Linked DNA regions of Homo sapiens: region 2 is linked to region 1. The links are contacts of gene promoters, found by promoter capture Hi-C in human tissues and cell types (Jung and others, 2019). All regions are on one chromosome and are shown on one strand. Each heading gives the region's core, a stretch centred on a gene start or on the middle of the fragment in contact. The rest is flanking DNA. Distances are from core to core; before and after follow the strand shown.

What was found. The method cuts DNA at HindIII sites, captures the fragments that hold promoters and counts their contacts. A contact is called where the count stands out against the background at its distance.
Region 2: a contact is called between a fragment that was not itself captured here and the fragment with the promoter of CD52 in region 1, in 4 of the 25 tissues and cell types used here (H1 embryonic stem cells, adrenal gland, bladder and 1 more).

Annotation. Positions count from the first base shown.
Region 1 is chr1:26,313,485-26,320,263 of GRCh38, reverse strand. CD52 (CD52 molecule) reads right to left here and starts at 2,306. Exons shown (of 2, transcript NM_001803.3): 1 at 2,193-2,306; 2 at 1-93. The coding sequence starts at 2,246. It also overlaps a transcript of UBXN11 not described here. RefSeq lists enhancers at 1,300-1,399, 541-1,526, 1,900-2,049, 2,180-2,249 and a silencer at 2,324-2,516. The HindIII fragment of the contact is 5,127 bases long and covers 1-3,946 here.
Region 2 is chr1:25,988,174-25,995,245 of GRCh38, reverse strand. PAFAH2 (platelet activating factor acetylhydrolase 2) reads left to right here. Exons shown (of 11, transcript NM_000437.4): 2 at 4,383-4,519; 3 at 5,645-5,798; 4 at 6,919-7,015. The coding sequence starts at 4,430. Among named protein-coding and RNA genes, the nearest start is that of PAFAH2, 6.4 kb to the left of the region's middle. RefSeq lists an enhancer at 1,164-1,675. The HindIII fragment of the contact is 7,134 bases long and covers 1-6,632 here.

The DNA of each region.
Region 1 (6,779 bases), core at 1,057-3,556:
GAAGAAAAGGAAAATGCCTCCGCTTATGTTGCTGGATGCTGAGGGGCTGCTGGTTTGGCTGGTGTCGTTTTGTCCTGAGAGTCCAGTTTGTATCTGTAGGAGGAGAAGTGGGATAAGATCAGGGGACTTTTTTTTTTTTTTTTAGAGGTGGAGTCTCACTCTGTCACCCAGGCTGGACTGCAGTGATGCGATCTCGGCTCACTGCATCCTCCACCTCCCGGGTTCAAGTGATTCTCCTGCCTCAGCCTCCTGAGTAGCTGGGACTATAGGCACGTGCCACCACGCCCGGCTAATTTTTCTATTTTTAGTAGAGACGGGGTTTCACCATGTTGGTCAGGCTGGTCTCGAACTCCTGACCTGGTGATCCACCCGCCTCGGCCTCCCAAAGTACTGGGATTACAGGTGTGAGCCATCGTACCCAGCCCTCAGGGGACTTTTGAATAGCGTGTTTGTTATTTAAAGATGCAGTCCCCTTTCTACCCTCCCCGCCCTCCATCCGCCCACCTCCATAAAACAGTCCTCAGTTCTGCCCCATGTGACCACTACTTCTTCCACAAGGTCCTGTCAGGATGTTTGACTGCTTCCTGCTTTGACACAGGCAGGGACAGAGGTGATCACTGCCCCTGTCCACCCCCTTTCACAGAAACTTTCTGTTTTTTTGAGATAGAGTTTCGCTCTTTTGCCCAGGCTGGAGTGAAGTGGCATGATCTCGGGTCACTGCAACCTCCACCCCTCAACCTCCCGAGTAGCTGGGATTATAGGCAGCCGCTATCACGCCCAGCTAATTTTTTTTTTTTTTCCGAGACAGAGTCTTGCTCTGTCGCCCGCCCAGGCTGGAGTGCAGTGGCGTGATCTCGGCTCACTGCAAGCTTCACCCCCAGGTTCACGCCATTCTCCTGCCTCAGCCTCCCGAGTAGCTGGGACTACAGGCGCCCGCCACCACGCCACGCCCGGCTAATTTCTTTTTGTATTTATGGTAGAGACGAGGTTTCAATGTGTTAGCCAGGATGGTCTCGATCTCCTGACCTCATGATCCACCCGCCTCAGCCTCCCAAAGTGCTGGGATTACAGACGCGAGCCAGCGCGCCCGGCTCGCCCAGCTAATTTTTGTATTTTTAGTAGAGACGGGATTTTGTCATGTTGGCCAGGCTGGTCTTGAACTCCTGACCTCAGGTGATCCGCCTGCCTCGGCCTCCCAAAGTGCTGGGATTATAGGCGTGAGCCACCGTGCCCGGTCACAGAACCTTTCTTTTCACCTTTCCCCAGCGACCAGCCCTTCTGGCATAGAGGGAGACAGGGGAGCCCTGGCCCTTGACCTTCCTAGCCTGGCAAAGGGCTTAGCTTCCCTGAGCCTCAGTTTCATCTTCTGAGTGGGGAGAAGTTCATCACAGTTGTGAAGGTCACATGAGCCAGGGCTGAGTGAGAAAGCACTTGGCAAAGCGTGGGTGGCTGGATGTGGGGTGGGGAAGTGGCCAGATGGTGATCGAGCTGTCCTTAATGCTTGATGGAGCTGCAACTAGAACTGTTCTTGATGGAGATTAAGCTGGTTTTGATGGTGATCAAGCTGTTCTTGATCAAGAACTTGATGGCTCCGGTCTGCTGTACTGACTCCCCTCTGGGCACCTGGGATGCTACCAAAGCTGCCTCCTGGAATAGCAGTCGCTTTTGAGACTCCAGTTGTTTCTGAAATGGGAGAGTCCTGTCTTCTTTGCATTCCTGAACATCCAGGCTTCTCTCTGGCAGGGGAGTGGGGGTTAGAGTGTCCCCTGTCACCTCCATAACCACAGCAGGCTCCACTTGGACATCTCCTGGCCTCTCCCCAAAGGACCATCTCCCCAGACTCCCTGTGGGCCGATGCCTTCCTCACTCAGGGTTGTCTTCCCAAGTCTCTTAGTTCTCTATTATTCCACAACACCCCTTGGGTGCCCCAACGCGCCTAGCACCCTGTAAGTGCTCCCCAGCTGTGGATACAGGTTTCTCTCAGGGCAGCCCGCAAGCAGTGCAGCCCCAGCCAGAAGAGCTGGAAGGCTGGGCGGCCAGGCCCGCTGTGTCCCCAGTTTTCCTGTTGGAGTCCATCTGCTGTGCTCTCAGGAGAGAAGGCTGGGTCTCTGGGAGCTCACATCCTGTATGCCCTCCCTCCATGCCAAGCAACTTTGGGGAGTCCTGGCAGTGGTGCCAGGCGTTGCTCTTACCTGTACCATAACCAGGAGGCTGATGGTGAGTAGGAGGAAGAGGAAGCGCTTCATTTTGGTAGGATCTTCGTGGCTGTCTTGGTAGCAGCTTTTTAGGTGATCTCAGGGCTGTCTGGAGGCTTCTTTTGGTTTAGCTGCTTTTGAACCAGGAGGCAGAGGAGGCGGGGTGAGGTAGGGAGAGGAAGGAGGGCTTACAAGGTGGAGGAGGGGTGTGGCTTCCTTTCTGCAGATCTGGGGGTGGATAATACCAGGCTCTAGGTTCTAAGGCCCTGGCTGGGGGAGCAGGCTAGATCGTACAAGATAGGAGAGAGGTCAATCCAGAGGCAACGGTGGGAGTAAGTAGGGCCCAAGGCCTGGAATCATGCATCCTGCAGGCTGAATCCTGGTTTAATCACTGACCAGCTCTGAGACCCTGGGCCAGAAACTCTACCTCTCTGACCCTTTAACAAAAGAACTGCCGGATTACATGTAATAATAACCAATTTAAAAAGAGCCAGAACATAGCAGATATTCCGTAAATGAGTTTGTTGTTTAAAGAAGATTGGGGCAGGGTATAGGAGCTGAAGGAGAAGGGCTGGGATAGATTTATGTTTCAAGGGAAGGTTGTAGATGGGCTGCAGGTTCTGAATGAAAGCTTGGGAAATGTTTAGATTGTGGAAGGGTTGGTGGATTTCTGTGAAGGTGCTGGAGGTGAGGAATCGGGAAGCCTGGTTTCAGTTGGGCTTTCCCTCTCTAGGCCTCAGTTCCTCATTTCAAGGAACTGGGAAGACTGAAATAGATTATTTCTGAAGTTTGTTAAAACCTAGTGTTTTGTTTTGTTGTTGTTGGTTTTTTTGTTTTTTTTTTTAAACAGAGTTTTGCTCTGTGCACTGGCATGATCTCGGCTTACTGCAACCTCCACCTCCTGGGTTCAAGCAATTATCCTGCCTTGGCCTCCCGCATAGCTGGGACTACAGGTGTGTGCCACCATGCCTGGCTAATTTTTTGTATTTTTTTTTTTTTTTTAGCGGAGACTGGGTTTCACCATGTTGGCTAGGCTAGTCTCGAATGCCTGATCTCAAGTGATCCGCCTGCCTCGGCCTCCCAAAGTGCTGGGATTACAGGCATGAGCCACCGCGCCCAGCCAAGACCTAGAATTTTGTGATTTTGGTAGAGAAAGTAGCAAGCAGATGGGTTGTTTGTATTAGCTGAGGATGAATGGGAGGGGAGCGAGGGAAGGGACAAGTGGGTGACTAAGCTACAGTGGAAGGGGACTGGGGTGAGAGAGTGGCTGTGAGGGCCCAGGGAGGGGTGGGGGGATGAGAGGAATCCCACAGCTGCCTGGATAGTGCTCCATGCTTTATGCATTCCCTCACTTGATACCCTCTGTGGTGCCCTGCAGCAGGTGTTATGTTTATCCCCATTTGACTGGTGAAAAAACTGAGGCTTAGATGTTAAGTGACTTGCTAAGGTCGTAAATGGTGGAGCCAGTCTCATTTGACCTTGAATCCAGGTCTGTCTGAAGCCACAGCCATGTATGTAACCTCTGGGGCTGCCCTAGAATTCATCCATTAAGTCTTGATTCCCTGCCACTCCCTCCCCCTCCCCTACACAAACTCCCCCCAGGCCCCAGGAGTTGGTCACCACAACCCCAGCTCTGGCCCACTCTCCCTTCACACTCTCCCTTCCTTAGTCTACTTTAGGCCTCATTTACATGCTAGGTAGTAAAGGGAAAACTCCCCTCACTTCTCTTCTATTGTTTTGGGCCTTGTGTTGCAAGCCCAGGGGAGATCTGGCTGAGGCTGAGTCCAAAGAAAAAAACAGAGGCTGGGCATAGGGGCTACGCCTGTAATCCTAGCAGTTTGGGAGGCTGAGGCGGGCAGATAACTTGAGCACAGGAGTTTGAGACCACCCGGGCAACATAGGAAGGCCCCATCTCTCAAAAAAAAAAAAAAAAAAAAAAAAAATTAGCCGGGCATAGTGGCACAAACCTATAGTCTCAGCTACTTGGGGGCTGACGCAGGAGGATTGCTTGCACCTGGGAGGCCCAGGCTGCAATGAGCCATGATTGTGGCACTGCACTCCAGCCAGGGTGACAGAGCAAGACCCTGTCTCAAAAAAAAAAAAAAAAAGGCCAGGAAACAGTGGCTCACGCCTGTAATCCCAGCATTTTGGGAGGCCGAGGTGGGTGGATCACCTGAGGTCAGGAGTTCTAGACCAGCCTGGCCAACATGGTGAAACCCTGTCTCTACTGAAAATACAGAAATTAGCCAGGTGTGCTGGCACATGCCTGTAATCCCAGCTACTCGGGAGGCTGAGGCAGGAGAATCACTTGAACCCGGGAGAAGGAGGTTGCAGTGAGCCGAGATCGTGCCATTGCACTCCAGCCTGAGCGACAAGAGAAAAACTCCATTTCAAAAAAAGAGAAGAGAAGAAAAGAAGAACTGAGAGTCAAAGCTGATGAGAGAAAGCCAGGAAGTGGAGAGGGAGGGGCGGGGAGGGAGAGAAGAGGGAGGAGTCCCCAGCCATCCATCACCCTCTTTCCCCATCCCTGCCCTTTCACCCAGAGGTCTCTCCTCACCCTTGACTCAAGTTCTCAGCTGTCTTTGGTGTGCCTGTGGGGGTGAGTGATTCTGGGGTTCATGAGAGTCAGGGAGGTGTCCTGTGCCAGAAGGGCACCAGCCCAGAAGACAGGATACCCGTGTTGAAGTCTGAGATTACTCTGCTGAAAATGAGCTCCATCACACTGTGCAATCTTCTCCCCTCTTACAAAGAGGCAGCCAGACAGGACGAGCCTGGGGCCAGCCGTGTTATAGTTTCCCATGCTGGAGATGCATGCGAGGATACTAAATGCCAGACTCTTATTTGTAAACATTTTCTTGCAAACCTCAGAAGCTTCATTTTCACCTCCTGACACCCTGAGGAGTATCTTCTACAGTCCATGTATTTCCTCTGCAAGGAAAGCCCTTCTCCAATTATTTTACCTGGCAAACTCTTTTTTTTTCCCCTCGAGTCAGGTTCTTGCCGTTGTCACCCAGGCTGGAGTACAAGTGGTGCAATCATAGCTCACTGTAACCTCGAACTCCTGGGCTCAAGCAATCCTCCCGCCTCATCCTCCTAAGTACCTGGGACTACAGGTGCATGCCACCATGCCCAGCTAATTTTTGGGGTGGTGGAGGGTGGAGTTTTGCTATGTTGCCCAGACTGCAAACTCTTCTTTATTCTTCAAGATTTAGCTTAGAAGCCCCTTCCCCAGGGAAACTTTCCACTTTCCCTAGGAAACTCAAAGTTCCTAAATGTTCGAAGGGCCCTTTCTGTTGACCTCTGTTCTAAAGATTGTGTCTACCAAGAATATGGTCTGTCCCTTGTGGGTTGGGACTAGATTTTGTCACTTCTCTTACTCAGCGAAGCACAGAACATGGCACAGTGTAGGTGTCAGGGACTGCCGGAAGAATGAGTGCGTGTATTCATCTAGATCTATTCCCACCTCCGAGCCTAGTAGTCCTGCATTTATTCATCCAGTAAATATTTACTATGGGGCAACAGTAAAGTCAGTACTGAAAAGTTACCAATGCAGAAAAGAAATAAGGGACTGAGAGAAGCAAGCCCTTTATATGGAGCTGCTTTCCTCCTAAAAGTATGCCACTTGCAGAGGGGACAGCTGAGAAACTGAGCTGAGCTTTCTCATCTTCACATACTTACAAATGTATGGGAGAAAAACTATAGTTCTAGATTCTCTAAGAAAGGGGAGCCCTGACAAACTCCCCCCACCTAGGCTTTGGGTTGGACCACGGGGAGTGAGAGTAAACAGGAAACAACAGCCCAACCCTCAAAGAAATTGAAGACAACATGACCAAAAAGCAGAAACAGATAATAGAAAGTTATACAAAAGATCCAGATAATGGAATAATCAATCAAATTTTCAAATAACTATGCTTACTTAAAGACATTTTCCTCTTCTGCCCTCTGAGCAGCAGGACAAGATTGAGAACTAGAAATTATAGTAAAGAACCGGCCGGGCGCGGTGGCTAACACCTGTAATCCCAGAACTTTGAGAGGCCGAGGCGAGTCGATCACAAGGTCAGGAGATCGAGACCATCCTGGCTAACAAAGTGAAACCCCATCTCTACTAAAAATACAAAAACTTAGCCAGGCATGGTGGCGGGCACCTGTAGTCCCAGCTACTCGGGAGGCTGAGGTAGGAGAATGGCATGAACCTGGAAGGCAGAGCTTGTGGTGAGCCGAGATCGTGCCACTGCACTCCAGCCTGGGCGATGGAGCAAGACTAAGTCTCAAAAAAAAAAAAAAAAGAAAAAAAATTATAGTAAAGAACCAAATGGAAATTCTAGAACTGAGAAATATGGTAATAAAAATTAGGAACTCAGTGGATAGGTTTAACATCAGATTGGGCACAACTGAAGAGAAAATTAGTGAAGTGAAGTAAAGATCGTAAGAAAGTATTATTAGAGCAGAATGTGTTTATTGGGTGCCTGCTGTGTACCAGGTACTGAACTAGGCACTGGGAATACAACAGTGACATAAAGACATGGTCCCTGCTATTATGGAGCTGATATTTGAGTGGGGGAAGACTAATAAAAAACAATGGTA
Region 2 (7,072 bases), core at 1,816-4,315, 330 kb after region 1:
TGTGGACAGTGATCAGAGATGATAGGAGGAAAGGTTGGAAGGACCTGGGAAAGCTTCACAGAGGACTAGAGATTTCACTGGGCCTCAGTGGATGGAGAGGCTTCTGGACAGGTACTACCATGAACTATTTAGACAAAGTGAGCAAAAGAAGGTAGAGACACATAGACTGATTTCCTTGGAAAATTCCATGACTTTTATTAGAAATGACTCTGGATGCTTTGTGTAAATGTCTCTTTGGCAAAATTTGCAACTCAGATTGGATTTTTCCATCTCTCCATCCTATTTGGACATCAGTCAATGTGAGTCCAGGAAATAAAGATTCATTTGCGTGTTAGCTTCACTCTGGCCAATTAGCTTCTGTAATTTTTATTTCCAAACAATTTAGTTGATGATCTTCCCAGAAACTTTCCAGGAGCACCAGAGAGTTCTGCTGTCTTCTGTTTGGCCATTTCCAAGTCCGCTTATCCTGATTCCTATCCCAAGTGCTGTTCTCTATGCAGAGTGAGACAAAAATCTGTTCCCATAAGAAGCTTAAGGACTATTGTCCTGGTTCCCCAATCTTAAAACCTGACTTATTGGCTCTTGACTCCCCAGATTCACTCAGTGGCCAAACCCTAGTGTTTCTACTTTTCACTCAATCAGCACATTTCTTGGATGCTTCCTAAGAGTCAGGTACCACACCAGATGCTTTGAATGCATTATTTCATTTTATTTCCACAGCAACCCTGTGAGGATGGATAGTGTTCCCATTGTACAGATGGGGAATCAAGCTTAGAGAGATCAGATAACTTGCATAAGATAAGAAAGCTAGGCAGGGCTGGCACGGTGGCTCACTCCAGTAATCCCAAGCACCTTGGGAGGCTAAGGCAGGATTATCGCTTGAGCCCAAGAGGTTGAGACCAGCCTGGGCAACATGATGAAACTCCATCTCTACAAATAAATACAAAAATTAGCCGGGTGTGATGGCAAGTGCCTATAGTCCCAGCCACCCAGGAGGCTGAGGTGGGAGCATCACTTGAGCTGGGAGGGTGAGGCCACAGTGAGCCACTGCACTCCAGCCTGGGAGACAGAGCAAGACCCTGTCTCAAAAAAAAAAAAAAAAAGCTAGGCACCAAATGAGCTGGGCCTCCAATGTGGTTCTTTCAGACTATCTCTCATGGACATGACCTCATTTCCAGAGTAGATTCCAACTTTTTAGCTTAGCACTTGAGGGACTGCTCCTCCCCAAATCTGGTCACAACTTTCTCTTCTCACCTTGCGTTGTTTCTCACACAAGCTTCCTTCTTACCGTGCCTTTGCTTGCTCTCTCCTGCTTGAAAGAGCCTTTCCCATCTTCCCCTGCTCTCTACTTCCAAGCTAAAGGAGCACTGTTTCTTCTCAGAACTCCTGTGGTCTTTTATCTGCTTTTCTTTTATGACAGTTGAACTTGCAGCTGCTTCATTGTCATGTGAGTGACAGGTGTCTTGTGGCCCCAGCAGTAGGTCTTCCATTTGCAGACCTCAACAACAAGCGATGGGGAAAGGTCAGGGTCTCAGGCTAAGCAGAGCTCATCCCCCTTCACTCTGGCTGAACAACCCACTGACATCAGGAGCTTAGCTTCTTTTTCAAAAGAATTGGGTTTGTTTTTAAATTTGCTAAAAAGAAACAAAATGAAGATGCTATCTGTAGTAGAAAGAAAATAATTTCTTATCTTTCAAAGTTAAATAGAATGATGTTAGGATTGTTGAGACCAGACAAGTGGCAGCTGACAACCAGGAGACTGTGTGTTGTTATCATCGTTCTGCTTGTGACTCTGAGCAGCTCACTTAATCTCTCCGGACCTTGGTGTCTTCCCTGGTAAAGCACGTGTATGTACGCGGAGAAGGGGAAAACGATTGTGGAGGGGATTGACGGAAATGCTCCCTTAGGTCTCTTCTTACCCAGACATGCTTTGACTGGAACTCCTGAATCCCTCCCAGAGCATCTTAAAGGAAGCAGAATAATTTAATCATTAACATGTGGACCCCAGACTCAGTGTGTATCCATTTAGATGCTTTTGGTTACAACCAAAAGAAATCTAACTTCAGTTGGTTTAACCAAGAAAGGGAACTTACTGACTCATGTAACTAGAAAGTCTAGGAGTGGGTCAGGTTTCAGGTATGGTCTAATCTGTGGATTCTTAATGTCTTCACAAATGGGCCTCTATTTCTCTGTGATTCTTCTGGTTTTCCCATCCACCATGGGTATCTTCATCCTCAAGGTGGCAAAAGTGGCTGCTGTGGTTCAAGGCCACTTGACAGGTGACATCTGCACATCACACTAGTCCAACACAGGAAATAACTTTTCTCCCCTCAACCGTCATACCAAAGTCCCGGGTTTTACGCCTATTGGACCAACCTAATGCCATACGCGCACTTTTCATCCAAATACTGACCGGAGAATAAGAAGGACTGATTGGCTCCGGTTAATTAAGGCTCAACTCCGGAGGTTAAGGAGGGGTCAGCCCCACCCAAATCACAAGGCAAGGGACACTGGGAAGTTTGACATTCTCATGTTACAACCACATTGTCCATGATCGAATTCTGGCTCTGCTCGCCATATGTTATTGGGTAAATTGCCTTTGTCAAGCATCTGTTTCCTCATCTGTAAAATGAGATAATAATACGTATCTCAGAGGACTGTTGAAAGAATTAAATAAAATAATATGTGAAAAGCACTAAACATAGTTCCTGGCACAGAGTAAGTATGATGATGATGGTGGTGTTGGAGATGATGAAACTGAAGAGGGTTAGGGGAGCACTGGCACCAGTTTAGGAAGCAGCTGAGCCGTAGGAATGTTATCTAGTCAGGAGTGTGCATGCCTGTCATGCTGAAAGCATCTGTTTGATCTACTGCCCACATCATACTTTTCCCTACCTCTGCTTTTTTTCCTCTTAGGATTTTTTCTATAAGTGCTTTCTTCCTCCTCCCCTGCCTCTCAACTTCCTCATCTTTAAAGGCCCAGCATAAGTGCTACCCCATATTCAGTAGTTTAAAAGCTGGGTGTGGTGGCTCTTACCTGTAATCCCAGCTACTTGGGAGGCCTAGGCAGGTGTATTGTTTGAGCCCAGGAGTTTGAGACCAGCCTGGACAACATAGCAAGACCCTGTCTCTCAAAAAAATCAAACGGTTTTAAGAAAAAGCTTAGTTCAGTAACTTTGCATCTGTATAACTGAATCTCCCCCTGAGCAGGATCAGTAATGGTTAAGAACTTAGCTTCCGGATTAGGCAGAGATGGGTTTGCCACTGGGTAACTTGGGAAGGTTATTCAACCTCTTTATGCCTTAGTTTCCTCATCTGTAAAACAGGGTCTTTTGTTTGTTTGTTTGTTTTTTGAGACAGGGTCTCACTCTGTCACCCAGGCTGGAGTGCAGTGGTGCAATCTCGGCTCACTGCAACCTCTGCCTCCCAGGTTCAAGCGATTCTCTTGCCTCAGCTTCCTGAGTAGCTGGGACTATAGGTGCCTGCCACTGCACCCGGCTAATTTTTGTATTTTTAGTAGAGACGGGGTTTCGCCATGTTGGCCAGGCTGGTCTTGAACTCCTGACCTCAGGTGATCTGCCCGCCTCGACCTCCCAAAGTGCTTGGATTACAGGCGTGAGCCACCGTGCCTGGCCAAAACAAGGTCTTAATAGTACCTACCTCAGGCCAGGCGCGGTGGCTCACGCCTGTAATCCCAGCACTTTGGGAGGCCAAAGTGGGTAGATCACGAGGTCAGGAGATCAAGACCATCCTGGCCAACATGGCGAAACCCCGTCTCTACTAAAAATTAAACAAAAAATTAGCTGGGCATGGTGGCACGTGCCTGTAATCCCAGCTACTCAGGAGGCTGAGGCAGGAGAATCGCTTGAACCAGGGAGTCGGAGGTTGCAGCGAGCAAGATCATGCCACTGCACTCCAGCCTAGCAACAGAGCGAGACTCCGTCTCAAAAAAAAAAGTACCTACCTCAGAGAGTGGTTGAGACAATGAAATGATGCAATGTGTATAGTGTCTATAAAGAGGTCAGTACAGTGCTAACCGTAAATAATGGATCTTAGTGGTTACTATTAGCCTCAGGAGAGCAAGGTCTGTGTGACAGTCTCTGCAGCAGTAGCTGCTGGATAAACATACGTTAATGGGCTGTAAGGAGTATGGATGGCTCTCTTTCGTCTTCCAGCCATCTCCTCACCCTAGCAAAATAAAAAACAACCCCCAACCTTGGCAAAGGCAATGTAGCAAAGTAGTAGGTGCAAGATTTAATGAGCGACGGCAGGGAGGATGAGGTGCTAAGGAGGGGTGGACAGGGTAACAGATAACACATTTCAGCAACAGGAAGCCGAGAGGAAACCAGCAAGCGGCTGCTGTTCTGTGTTCCCCCATCCAGCCAGCAAGTTCAGCTCCGGCAAGTCATTTGATTCACCCGGTGATGAAATGGGGGTCAACCAGTCTGTGGGCTTTCCACCTGTCACAGGACCCCACCTCGTAGGCTGTGGGGATGTGATGGAGGGTCAGAATCTCCAGGTAAGTGTCCCCAGCTCCCTTTCTTCTGTTTGCACTGCTTCTGCCGGCACCGTGACTTACTGATCACAAGTCTGATCCTGTATTCCCACGGTGGGGAAAATGAATTAGAGCGGGTCTGGATTTGGTTATCAAGCCCCCAGGTCTGTCTTCCTGAGCTTTTTCTTCCTCTTTCCAAACATTAGAAACATCCCAATAGACAGAGATAATGCGTTCATTTTCCACCTAGGAGGAAAGGGGGGACTCTAGCTTTAGAGGCAGCTCGCAGATCCTCTCACCTTTCTTGAGGGCAGATGCCTGATCTTGGAAGGGTTTTAATCGTATCATAATCTGAGTGTGTGAGAGAAAGAGCCATGGGCGTGTGCCTTTGGCCTTGGACTCCCTGACCTGGGTAGGGGGACAGCTTCCTTTTCTCTCTCCTGCCTTGATCTGTTTTCCCCTCCTGCTTTGACTTCTGGACTGGTCCTCTATCTTATATATATGTATATATAGTAGAGACGAGGCCTTGCTATGTTGCCCAGGCTGATGTCTAACTCCTGGCCTCAAGCGACTCTCCTACCTCGGCTTCCCAAAGTGCTGGGATTACAGGCATGAGCCACTGTGCCTGGCTTAGTTCCTAGGTCTTTCTCTGCTAGCCCTTGGACTTCCTGTCTCCCTTGAGAGGCACACACTTCCTAGTAACCCCTCACCTACTCCCATGTAAAATGAGTGTGCTGTTGCTTCCCAGGGGCTGTCCTAGAGCAGAGTGGCCTGGATGAGCTACCAAGGCCACCCTGTTCAGCACGAGAACTAATCTCTAACTCCTGGGGCTCCTCTAGGCCTAGGTTCAGGGCCAGATTTAAATCTTTCATTGTCCCAAGCACTCAAATATTTTTGGTGCCCCCTCCCACAATGTAATTCAAAATACAGTTGGCTATTTGAAATAACGTAAGCTTTACATATATGCTAAAAATCAAATTGCTTCTTTCCAGATTTCTGAATGTGAAATTCAGGCATGCTAATTGAAACTTCAGTTTCCCTGTTTTGGTGCCCTGTTTTGCTGGTGCCCCAAACACCTGCTGAGTGTGGCTGTTGGGAAATCTAGCCTGGGCTCCTTGCTCTGAGCAGCTGCTCTCTTCTTTCCTACAGGGGAGCTTCTTTCGACTCTTCTACCCCTGCCAAAAGGCAGAGGAGACCATGGAGCAGCCCCTGTGGATTCCCCGCTATGAGTACTGCACTGGCCTGGCCGAGTACCTGCAGTTTAATAAGCGCTGCGGGGGCTTGCTGTTCAACCTGGCGGTGGGTAAGGGCTGGCCTGACCTCTGCATGCTTTCCCAGTTGCTTGGTTATGTTCCTGGGAGATCCCCAGGTGGACGCAGTACCTTATAGCCTGCAGTGTCCAGGCTTTTGTAAGGGGCATCCATTAGCCAGTGTGGTATGGAGAGTTGGGAGAGAATTACATATGAAAGAGCTTTGGTGACTGAGTTAGACTTTCCTGGATTCAAATCCAGACTTTATAAGTTACTAGCCATGGGGTTTGGGCAAGTTACTGAACCTGTCTAAATACATGTCTTTGGGGGTTTGTAGTACGGGATGTACGTAAAGCCTCTAATGCGGTGCTTGGGACATATAATGTGTTCCATAAATGGCACTGATTGCTCCTTTGTTTAGCATGTATTAATTCCTACTCTGTGCCAGCTATTGTGTGTATCAAAGAAAGATTCTTAACTGTCAAGGAGCGTACAGTTTCCTGCAGTTTTCCCTCCAGTCACCCCTCTTCTGAGTAGGGTAACATTGAGTCATCCACTTCCCCCAAAGGTCCCACACCTAGGAATTCCACCCAGTGCCTTGGCATCTCAGCAGTTTACCCCGGGTTCAGTACTGCCACTTTGGACTTAGCTTCCCATTTTCTTTTCCTTTTTTTTTTTTTTTTTTTTTTTTTTTGGTGAGATGGAGTCTTGCTCTTGTTGCCCAGGCTGGAGTGCAATGGCACAATCTCAGCTCACTGCAACCTTCGCCTCCAGGGTGCAAGTGATTCTCCTGCCTCAGCCTCCTGAGTAGCTGGGATTATAGGAGCCCGCCACCACGCCCAGCTAATTTTTGTATTTTTAGTAGAGACGGGGTTTCACTTGGCCAGGCTGGTCTCTTGACCTCGTGATCCGCCCTCCTTGGCCTGCCAAAGTGCTGGGAATACAGGCGTGAGCCACTGCGCCTGGCTTAGCTTCCCATTTTCTGTTGTGTTCACTCTTCCTAGGGAAGAAAGGGAGAAGAAATAGGTGATTAACTGCCCTGAGCTGCTCAGGGGCCGATGGTGGTTCTCCAGAGGGGAGAAACACATGTCCCCACCCATACCTATACTCAGGCTGCCCTTGGGATAACAGCTTTGGGGCAGCCAGATATTCTATAGCCCATGTCTCTGCTAGGATCTTGTCGCCTGCCTGTTAGCTGGAATGGCCCCTTTAAGACAAAGGACTCTGGATACCCCTTGATCATCTTCTCCCATGGCCTAGGAGCCTTCAGGTAAGAGCTTCTTTCCCCCAGACCTTGCCATACTCCTTGCCTGGTGACAGCTGCTGA